Linked DNA regions of Homo sapiens: all the other regions are linked to region 1. The links are contacts of gene promoters, found by promoter capture Hi-C in blood cells and fetal thymus (Javierre and others, 2016). All regions are on one chromosome and are shown on one strand. Each heading gives the region's core, a stretch centred on a gene start or on the middle of the fragment in contact. The rest is flanking DNA. Distances are from core to core; before and after follow the strand shown.

The links. The method cuts DNA at HindIII sites, captures the fragments that hold promoters and counts their contacts. A CHiCAGO score of 5 or more calls a contact.
Region 2: a contact is called between a fragment that was not itself captured here and the fragment with the promoter of IRS2 in region 1, in 1 of 17 cell types (fetal thymus). The highest score is 5.4, in fetal thymus.
Region 3: a fragment that was not itself captured here is called in contact with the fragment with the promoter of IRS2 in region 1 in 1 of 17 cell types (endothelial precursors); the score reaches 6.0 in endothelial precursors.

The regions. Positions count from the first base shown.
Region 1 is chr13:109,785,206-109,787,905 of GRCh38, reverse strand. IRS2 (insulin receptor substrate 2) reads left to right here and starts at 1,323. Exons shown (of 2, transcript NM_003749.3): 1 at 1,323-2,700. The coding sequence starts at 1,853. It overlaps LOC124903211 (WAS/WASL-interacting protein family member 1-like), which reads right to left and starts at 822. Exons shown (of 2, transcript XM_047430835.1): 1 at 461-822; 2 at 1-306. The coding sequence starts at 813. The coding sequence ends at 69. RefSeq lists silencers at 926-1,095, 1,116-1,345 and an enhancer at 2,187-2,700. The HindIII fragment of the contact is 25,501 bases long and covers 1-2,700 here.
Region 2 is chr13:109,203,497-109,206,196 of GRCh38, reverse strand. The region is part of intron 34 of MYO16 (myosin XVI); the gene reads right to left. It overlaps LOC124903207 (a long non-coding RNA gene), which reads left to right. Exons shown (of 2, transcript XR_007063864.1): 1 at 1-2,700. Among named protein-coding and RNA genes, the nearest start is that of MYO16-AS1, 38 kb to the right of the region's middle. The HindIII fragment of the contact is 1,667 bases long and covers 459-2,125 here.
Region 3 is chr13:108,999,689-109,002,388 of GRCh38, reverse strand. All of the region lies in intron 21 of MYO16 (myosin XVI), which reads right to left. Among named protein-coding and RNA genes, the nearest start is that of MYO16-AS2, 100 kb to the left of the region's middle. The HindIII fragment of the contact is 2,015 bases long and covers 303-2,317 here.

The DNA.
Region 1 (2,700 bases), core at 74-2,573:
AAAGTCACAAAAGCCCAGTAGATACATGAATTCGAAGCAGTTCTCCAAGGGCATCTCCAACTTGGCAGTCACCGCCCGCACCGCGCACACAGGTAGTGGACGCCCGCCCACCTGCCCGTCTGCTGGGCGCAGGGCGCTCCTGGGGTGGGGAGGGCGCTCCTGTGGGGGGAAAAGGGGCGCTCCTGCCTCGGAGGGGGAAAGGACGCCCCTGTGGAAGGAAGGGGGGGCTCTTGAAGCGGTGTGGTGAGAGGACGCTTCCGAGGAAGGAAGGGGGTGCTCCTGCAGCGGTGGGGGGAGAGGACGCCCCTGCGGAAGGAAGGCGGCGCTCCTGCGGGGGCTGGAGAGACGCCCGCGCGGTCTCCCGGCTCAGGGACCGCTGGCTCGCGGGTCCGCCCTCTCCCCGGCGCTATGGAAACCGCACTTTCTCCGCCTGCCGTCCCCGATCTCTTTCTCCTATTACCTCCCAAACGCGATTTCAACTTCCCGACAAGCTGACAAGTGAATGGCGCAGAGGACGCCCCGTAAAGCGCCCGCGAGCGGGTGGGACACAGGCGCCCCCTCCGCGCCCCTCTGTCCTCCACGGAAGGGCGCGCGCCGCTCTCGATCTGGAGCGCGGTGCTCGCGAACCCGCGGCCGCGGGCCCTGGAACCTCCCCGCGTTTCGCGGCTGCGGGGGGACGGAGATGCGGCCGGGAGACGGGGACGGGAAACGGGGGACGGGGATGGGGCGCGCCCACCCCGAGCGCGGGAGCGGCCGCCCTCGCCCAAAATGGGGACCCCGCGCCCCGAGAGCACGGCCCGGCTCGCCGCCCATGCTTCCACTGCAAGGCCGCAGCCCCCGCCGCCGATCCCGATCCCCCGCCCCGCCCAGCCGCGGCCCCGCCCGGCGCCCCCTCCCCGGCGGAAGCTCAAGCCCAATTAATTGAGTCCGAGGCGGGAGGGAAGGGCCCTGCGCGCCGTGGCCCGCCCCGCCCCTCTTCCGCGCCCCTTTTCCCGCCCTGGGTGGCATCTCCTCCGCCGGCATCCACAACAAGCCGCTGATTAATGAGGCCGGGGCCGCCCCACCCCGCCCGGCCGGGCCGGGGCCTTCGCGGGAGGGGGAGGGGACGGCGGGAAACGCGGCCCGGGGAGAAAGGGGGGCGGGGCGGGGGCGCGCGGCCCGCCCCCGCGAGCGCCGCGCCGATTGGCCGAGCGCGCCGTCCGTCGGGGGGCGCGGCGCCAATGCGAGGCAGCGGGGCGGGGCGGCCGCGCTGTGTGTGCCTGCGTAACGCCGAGTCACATGTTGTTTTGCTCTTCTTAGTTCAGTCACTCGGTGCGCGATGTGTTACTCACTGTGCGGCGGGGACCGCGACGAGCCCGGGTCGCCGTTGGCAGCAGCAGCAGCAACACCAGCAGCAGCAGCAGCCCCGGCGGCGGCGCGGACCCCGAGCGCCCGGGCGCACCCCGGCTTCCCGGAGCGCGACGCGGCGGCAGCAGCCCCGGTGCGGCCGCGCGCGCCTTAGGCTCGGCCCCGCGGCTCGGGGACCCCGACTCCCGGCCCAGCGAGCGCGTCCCCCGGCGCCGCCCGAGAGCCCGAGGAGGCAGCGGCCGCAGGCAGCCGGGGAGGGGGGCGGCCACCGCCCGCGCCGGGCATCCTCAGGAGCCCCAGAGCGCGGAGGGCGCGGCGCCGCCGAGCGGTGCTGGCCCCCGCGGGCCTCCCCGGACCTTCCCCACCGCCTGGGCCCGAGGGACGCGTGATCGGGCGGGCGGCCGGGCGCAAGGGTGGGAGGGAGCCGCCCCCGCCCGCGCCCCCTCCGCCCCTCGCCCCAACCCCTGGGCGCCGGGCCCGGGCCGCGCGGCCTGAAGCGCCCGCGATGGCGAGCCCGCCGCGGCACGGGCCGCCCGGGCCGGCGAGCGGAGACGGCCCCAACCTCAACAACAACAACAACAACAACAACCACAGCGTGCGCAAGTGCGGCTACCTGCGCAAGCAGAAGCATGGCCACAAGCGCTTCTTCGTGCTGCGCGGACCCGGCGCGGGCGGCGACGAGGCGACGGCGGGCGGGGGGTCGGCGCCGCAACCGCCGCGGCTCGAGTACTACGAGAGCGAGAAAAAGTGGCGGAGCAAGGCAGGCGCGCCGAAACGGGTGATCGCTCTCGACTGCTGCCTGAACATCAACAAGCGCGCCGACGCCAAGCACAAGTACCTGATCGCCCTCTACACCAAGGACGAGTACTTCGCCGTGGCCGCCGAGAACGAGCAGGAGCAGGAGGGCTGGTACCGCGCGCTCACCGACCTGGTCAGCGAGGGCCGCGCGGCCGCCGGAGACGCGCCCCCCGCCGCCGCGCCCGCCGCGTCCTGCAGCGCCTCCCTGCCCGGCGCCCTGGGCGGCTCTGCCGGCGCCGCCGGGGCCGAGGACAGCTACGGGCTGGTGGCTCCCGCCACGGCCGCCTACCGTGAGGTGTGGCAGGTGAACCTGAAGCCCAAGGGTCTGGGCCAGAGCAAGAACCTGACGGGGGTGTACCGTCTGTGCCTGTCTGCGCGCACCATCGGCTTCGTGAAGCTCAACTGCGAGCAGCCGTCGGTGACGCTGCAGCTCATGAACATCCGCCGCTGCGGCCACTCGGACAGCTTCTTCTTCATCGAGGTGGGCCGCTCGGCCGTCACAGGCCCCGGCGAGCTGTGGATGCAGGCGGACGACTCGGTGGTGGCGCAGAACAT
Region 2 (2,700 bases), core at 43-2,542, 580 kb after region 1:
CTCCTCCATCTGTCCACATAGTTAATAGTCAAACATGACTATTAGGGTTACATGACCTCACTTCCGACCATAAGGCATGGACCCAAAGATGGACCCCTACTCATGAGGGTCCGTTCATAGACAATACACAATCACACCACACTCATGTAGAAAATGTTTTCAAGCATTAGGTGTTCCAAAAGGCAGTCACTAAAATATCCAATGAGCTCATTCAAGGCGGGCTAGCTGTGCTTGAGAATATTTGAAGCCTCTTTGGTGTATCTACCTGCCTGCTCTATTTGGTGGCAGTGAGACAAAGCAATGAGCTAAATTAGCAACTGTGTACTCTCAGACGCTGAGCCCTCAAAGATGGGAACATTATGGGCCTTTGCAGGAAAGCATCAAAACATGTAACTGTATTGGCTACATCATCTTGTGTCACTATGGCCCCTGAAGAGAGACACCCTGCAGACCAAGCTTACCCCCTGACTTCAGCTAGGGCACAAGACAAGCTGGCTATGTAGCTGGGGTCACCCTTCTTCTGCCAGCCGCCAGAAGTCTGTAGTAGCTGGACATTGCAGATATCAATTTTTCTGGCAATTCTAAGGAAGTATACTGGTTTAAAAAAAAAATGAGATTCTGGAAATCCGAATAGGAATACTGGGGAGAATTCAGAGGAAATGAGATGACTCATCCTACCTCCAAAGCACTAACTACTTTGTTCCAGCACTTCTTCTATCTCATCACAACCCTCTCCATTAAAATGAGAGAAAATAAAACAAAACAGAACACAAGTGGTTATGCACTTATGTAGAAAACAGTCACTTGAAAGCAGCAAAGGGAGTGAGTGTTCCATCCAGGCCCAATTCTAACACCAACACCTGAGCCTACTGTTTCCCCCAGAAAGAGGATTTTAAAGGCTGGGATCAAGGAGATGATGTTTACAGCATGAAGGTCAAACCCATATTCAGAGTCTGTAACTAGAGTTCTGGAGCTGGTTATTAGTAAAAGGAGCCTCCCCAGTTGAATTTACAGACAACCAGAGGAAAGAAGAGCTTAAGGGTAGAAAAGAGGACTATGGTTACTCAGTCCCTAAAGCAATTTCTAGACATAACAGAGAGTGAGCTGCAGAGCAGAGTGGGCCTCTTAAAAGGGTATTTTTTTTTTATTCTTTAGGGCTGCATCAGAATGGCCTGGAAATGAGAAATTCTGTTGGGCAGATGCTTGTGGAAGCCAGATTGCTTCTACTCTCAGCAGAGTGAGCCAAGAAAGCAGGGTGGTGGGAGCTTGCATGAAATCAGGTTATTTAGTGAACACTTTGGCTACACGTGTGCTAGGTGCTTTCGTAAGCACCTTCCAGGCATTAACTCGTCAGCTCTTAAGAGCCCTGTAAAGTGGGTACTTCTATGTTGCAGATCAGGAAACAGGAACAGGGCAGTCAGGTAATCTGGCCAAAGCCACATGGAAAATGACAGATCCTGGCAGCCTGGCCCAAGAGTCCATGGGATGTGTTTCCATTTGTTCGCATCATCTATAATTTCTTTCAAAGTGGGCTAAGGACATGAGTAGACAATTCTCAAAAGAAGATATGCTTTTAGCTGTGAGTCTACTGTGCTTAACCCAACTATTGTGGTCTAGGATCTGATACAGGCTAAGGATCAGAGTCCCCTGTACCATGTTCCTCTTCCCTTCTTTTTCTGAATGGGACCACAGTCATCTATGTTTGTCCAGGAGTGTGTGCCAGCTCCTCCGTCATCCTCCACCAGTGTGTGCTGTGCTGGTTACATTCCCTTCAGTCTCATTAGTGTGGACATGGAACATTCATATTTATGTTCCTTGGCACACACTCAGCATACAGTAGTGATCTCTGAAAACAATGTCACCAGATCAGGAAACAACATTTAACTGATGGAAGAATATCGCTACCATGTCAACTGATTATTTTCCCCAAGTTTTCTTAAGACACCATGTTTCCTAAATGACACAACTTCATATTCATTTATTTAGAAAACAAACTGAGGAACGTTCACTTCTGGAGAGCTATAGCATGTTATTGTTCCTGTTGTAAAAATTTCAAAAAAGAGTCATTTTTCTAAAACATCAGGAAATTCTGACAAATGGAGAGAATTCCAGATGGAGTGAAGCTTTTTGAGGTGAACAGATAATTACCAGCTGCTTTTTTCCTCCCGGGGACATTTGCCAATTCTGAGCATTTCCCCAGATCCAGAGAGTTTTTTCTGGAAGGAAGATAAACCACATGATATTTTGGAGTTTCATGGGACTAAAGAAACAAATTGGAAACTTATAGGTCCTCAAATGCACAGCCATCGTCCACAGGGGACACTCATTTAGCTGTTCACCTGCATGGGTGATGGGCGCCCTAGGCCAAAGTTTATAGAAAGCAGAATGAAACCTCCTACAGTGACAGAGGTGCTTCAGAAGTAAAACCCTGGCAGGGGTGATGATGGCCTCTAGCATGTGACCAGTCTCATCTTAAAACATTTTCTGGATTTTGAAAGTGTGTGGGGCACAAGGCTGCAGAGTCAGGCTGGGAGCTCTGAAACACAGGGCTAGATTTGCTGTCATCTTTCAGGGCTGAGGAACAAAGACCTCGCAATGAAAGGCAAAGGCGGATCAAGCCTGAGGATTAGGAGAGAACCAGGGGTAGACTGGTTCTCCAGCACAGCCCAGCGAGGAACTACAGTAAGAGTGAAAGCTGAT
Region 3 (2,700 bases), core at 61-2,560, 790 kb after region 1:
GTATTAATGACAAACAATTTCTTGAGTAAATTTCCACCAACTGCTCTCCCTTTACTTTCATTACTCAGTGAAACATATCTGAAACAAAAATATAATAGAGCATGGCATACACATCACAGAATTAAAGTAGGAGATTAATTAAAGCTGACTCCAGCTGAAGGCAGAGCCCTGGGCAGTGACTCTCAAGCCTATCTGCACATTGGAATTAATTGAGGAGTTTTTTAAGAAAGGCTAATGTCTGGGCCTGACCCCAAACCAATTAAATTGGAGTGGGGTGCAGGCATTGAAATATTTAAAAAGCTTTCCAGGTGATTCTAATGGGTAGACATGGTTGAACACACTGAGATAGATCATAGAACTGAGAATGCACTATGCATCAACTAATTTGCTCATTAGTTAATATATATGTGTATATATAAGATATTAATGTGTGTGTGTTCACATGAGACAGACACACAGAGAGAGAGAGAAGGAATAGTGTTAGATTTTAGACACTGAGCATTGCTGAAATATGTTCAGCAGAACACTAATTGTGTGAGACTTTAATAGCTGTTGTCTAAAAACCCTACCTAAGCAGAAGCCCATTGGGGAAATATGGAGTTAAGTTAGGCTTCTCTGCAGGACTTCTTTGGGACTTGAACACTTCAAGCATACTATAAACTTCAACTATTTGAAGATTACCTTGGGGCTCACCAGACTGCTCCAAGTGGTTCTCCGACAAATCAGTTATCCCTGATTTCCATATATTGCCTATGAAACGGCAGGTACAGGAGGTTGGTGAGGGGATAGCATCTCTCTTGTTTACTTCAGTTTTAAAAGTCTAGTTTATTTTGTCTTCTCAGAATCTATAATTGTAGAGGCCTTTCTTTCCTACCATTCTTGTTTGGGAAAGGTCATGTTTACTCTTTTGCTAGCACCATGACTGACTCTTACCTTGATAGAGGATACTACCTCTGCCGATAAGCTAATCTTATTTTAAAAATAGAGGACTTGGGTGCTTGGTAGCCACAGCAGAGAAGGGTTGCTTTCCTTACCAGAGCCCCACATTGGGACCCGCAGTCAGCACCCAGGAAGTGGACTGGGCACACATTCGCTACCACCCACAGCTACCACCTGGCCCAGGCTGCCGTATTTGTTTTTGTTTGTATTTCTTTTTTCACCCTTCTATTTCCCAATCCCCTTCTCTTCCTTTTCTTTTTTTTTTTTTAAATTTTTTATTCTGTTACTATTTCTTAAAGGAATCAATCATCTTTCCTTCTCTGGCTTCCTTAGATATTTTAAAATTAAAGTATATATAACAAATTTTAAGTAAATATAAATTTCAGCTACTTCACATGTATAAAGACATTGTTTTACACAAATGAAAAACACTTTCTCTTTTTACAACTTTTATTTTATTCTGTTACTCAGAACAAAAAAATCTAGTATTTTGATGGGTTTAATTCATGACTATATTCTCCTTTAATGTAAATAATTACTACTTTGGGATTTGAAGAATTGGTCTTCAAAAAGGAGTCTATCGACTACAAACTAACTGGCTAAATTTATTGACAAATCTTATATAATAATATGCTAAGATCAGGATTGAAAAACACATATTAAAAAAATTATTTTTAGTATTTTGTATGATACCTTGTACATAAAATATATTCCTCAATTTAAATAGAAGCCATGCCCAAGAGTTAGAAACATAACCTCTGGTTAAAATGCTCTTATTTTAGAGCTTCAGTCACTCTATCAAATTGTTCAATATTTTTCAAAAAAAAGTTTGTTTTCTTGTTTAGTAATAAACTTCTAATCAATATGCTTTCTTTTTTCATATAAAATTATTCATATAGTCCAAAACCAATGATTAATGTATAATTTCTACCAAAATAATAAGCCTTTTTCAAATAGTTGTAATGATTCAGAATGAAATGCAAAGTTTAGAGGTTCTGACAAACTGACAGCATGGCCTGTGCTGGAGCAGCTCCTGCGGCCTCACACATCTGCCTCTGAATTCCCACTGGGCCTCATAAAACTTGTGGGGACTTTAACTCTTAATTTTCTGAAAAAGCTGTTGTAAGAGTTAAAAATTATATAGAAAAATAATCTGACTAATAGTAGGAGCTCAAGAAATTGTAGCCATTATCAATTATTAGCACAAAACTACATGAAAGCATTTTCCTAGTTTACGTATCTGGGATTGGAGCTTTATAGCTGGACAGCCACAATGATTAACTTAAGCCTTTTCCTGGTCATTAAAATTACTCAATTCACTCTTCTCTAAAGTAATCTGATAGATGGTTTCAAATGCATTAATTCTCCTTACTAAGCTTTGTAACATTTCCTTTTAATCATCCTGGTACTCTACAATGAAAAAGATACACCTCCATTATGAAACTTATTTATATTAAACGGATTTGGTGATAAATTCCACTATGGAAAAAACAATGGCACATAAAATTTACGAAGAGTTTATTGTTTCTAAACATAATAGAATAAATAATATTGAGTCCTAAGAGAAATACAAACAAAAGGGGCATCAAGTGAAGTTTAGAAAATATATACTAATAAAATTTTATGTTTAGCTTTCTAAGAACCTTTGGAACTGAAAATAGCTTGTTATTAAACCTGAATTCAGACCTTGGTTTTGTGTGAACTTCTATGAGCTACTTAAATTATTTAAGCTCAGAGGTGATATTACTTAACTTACAGAGA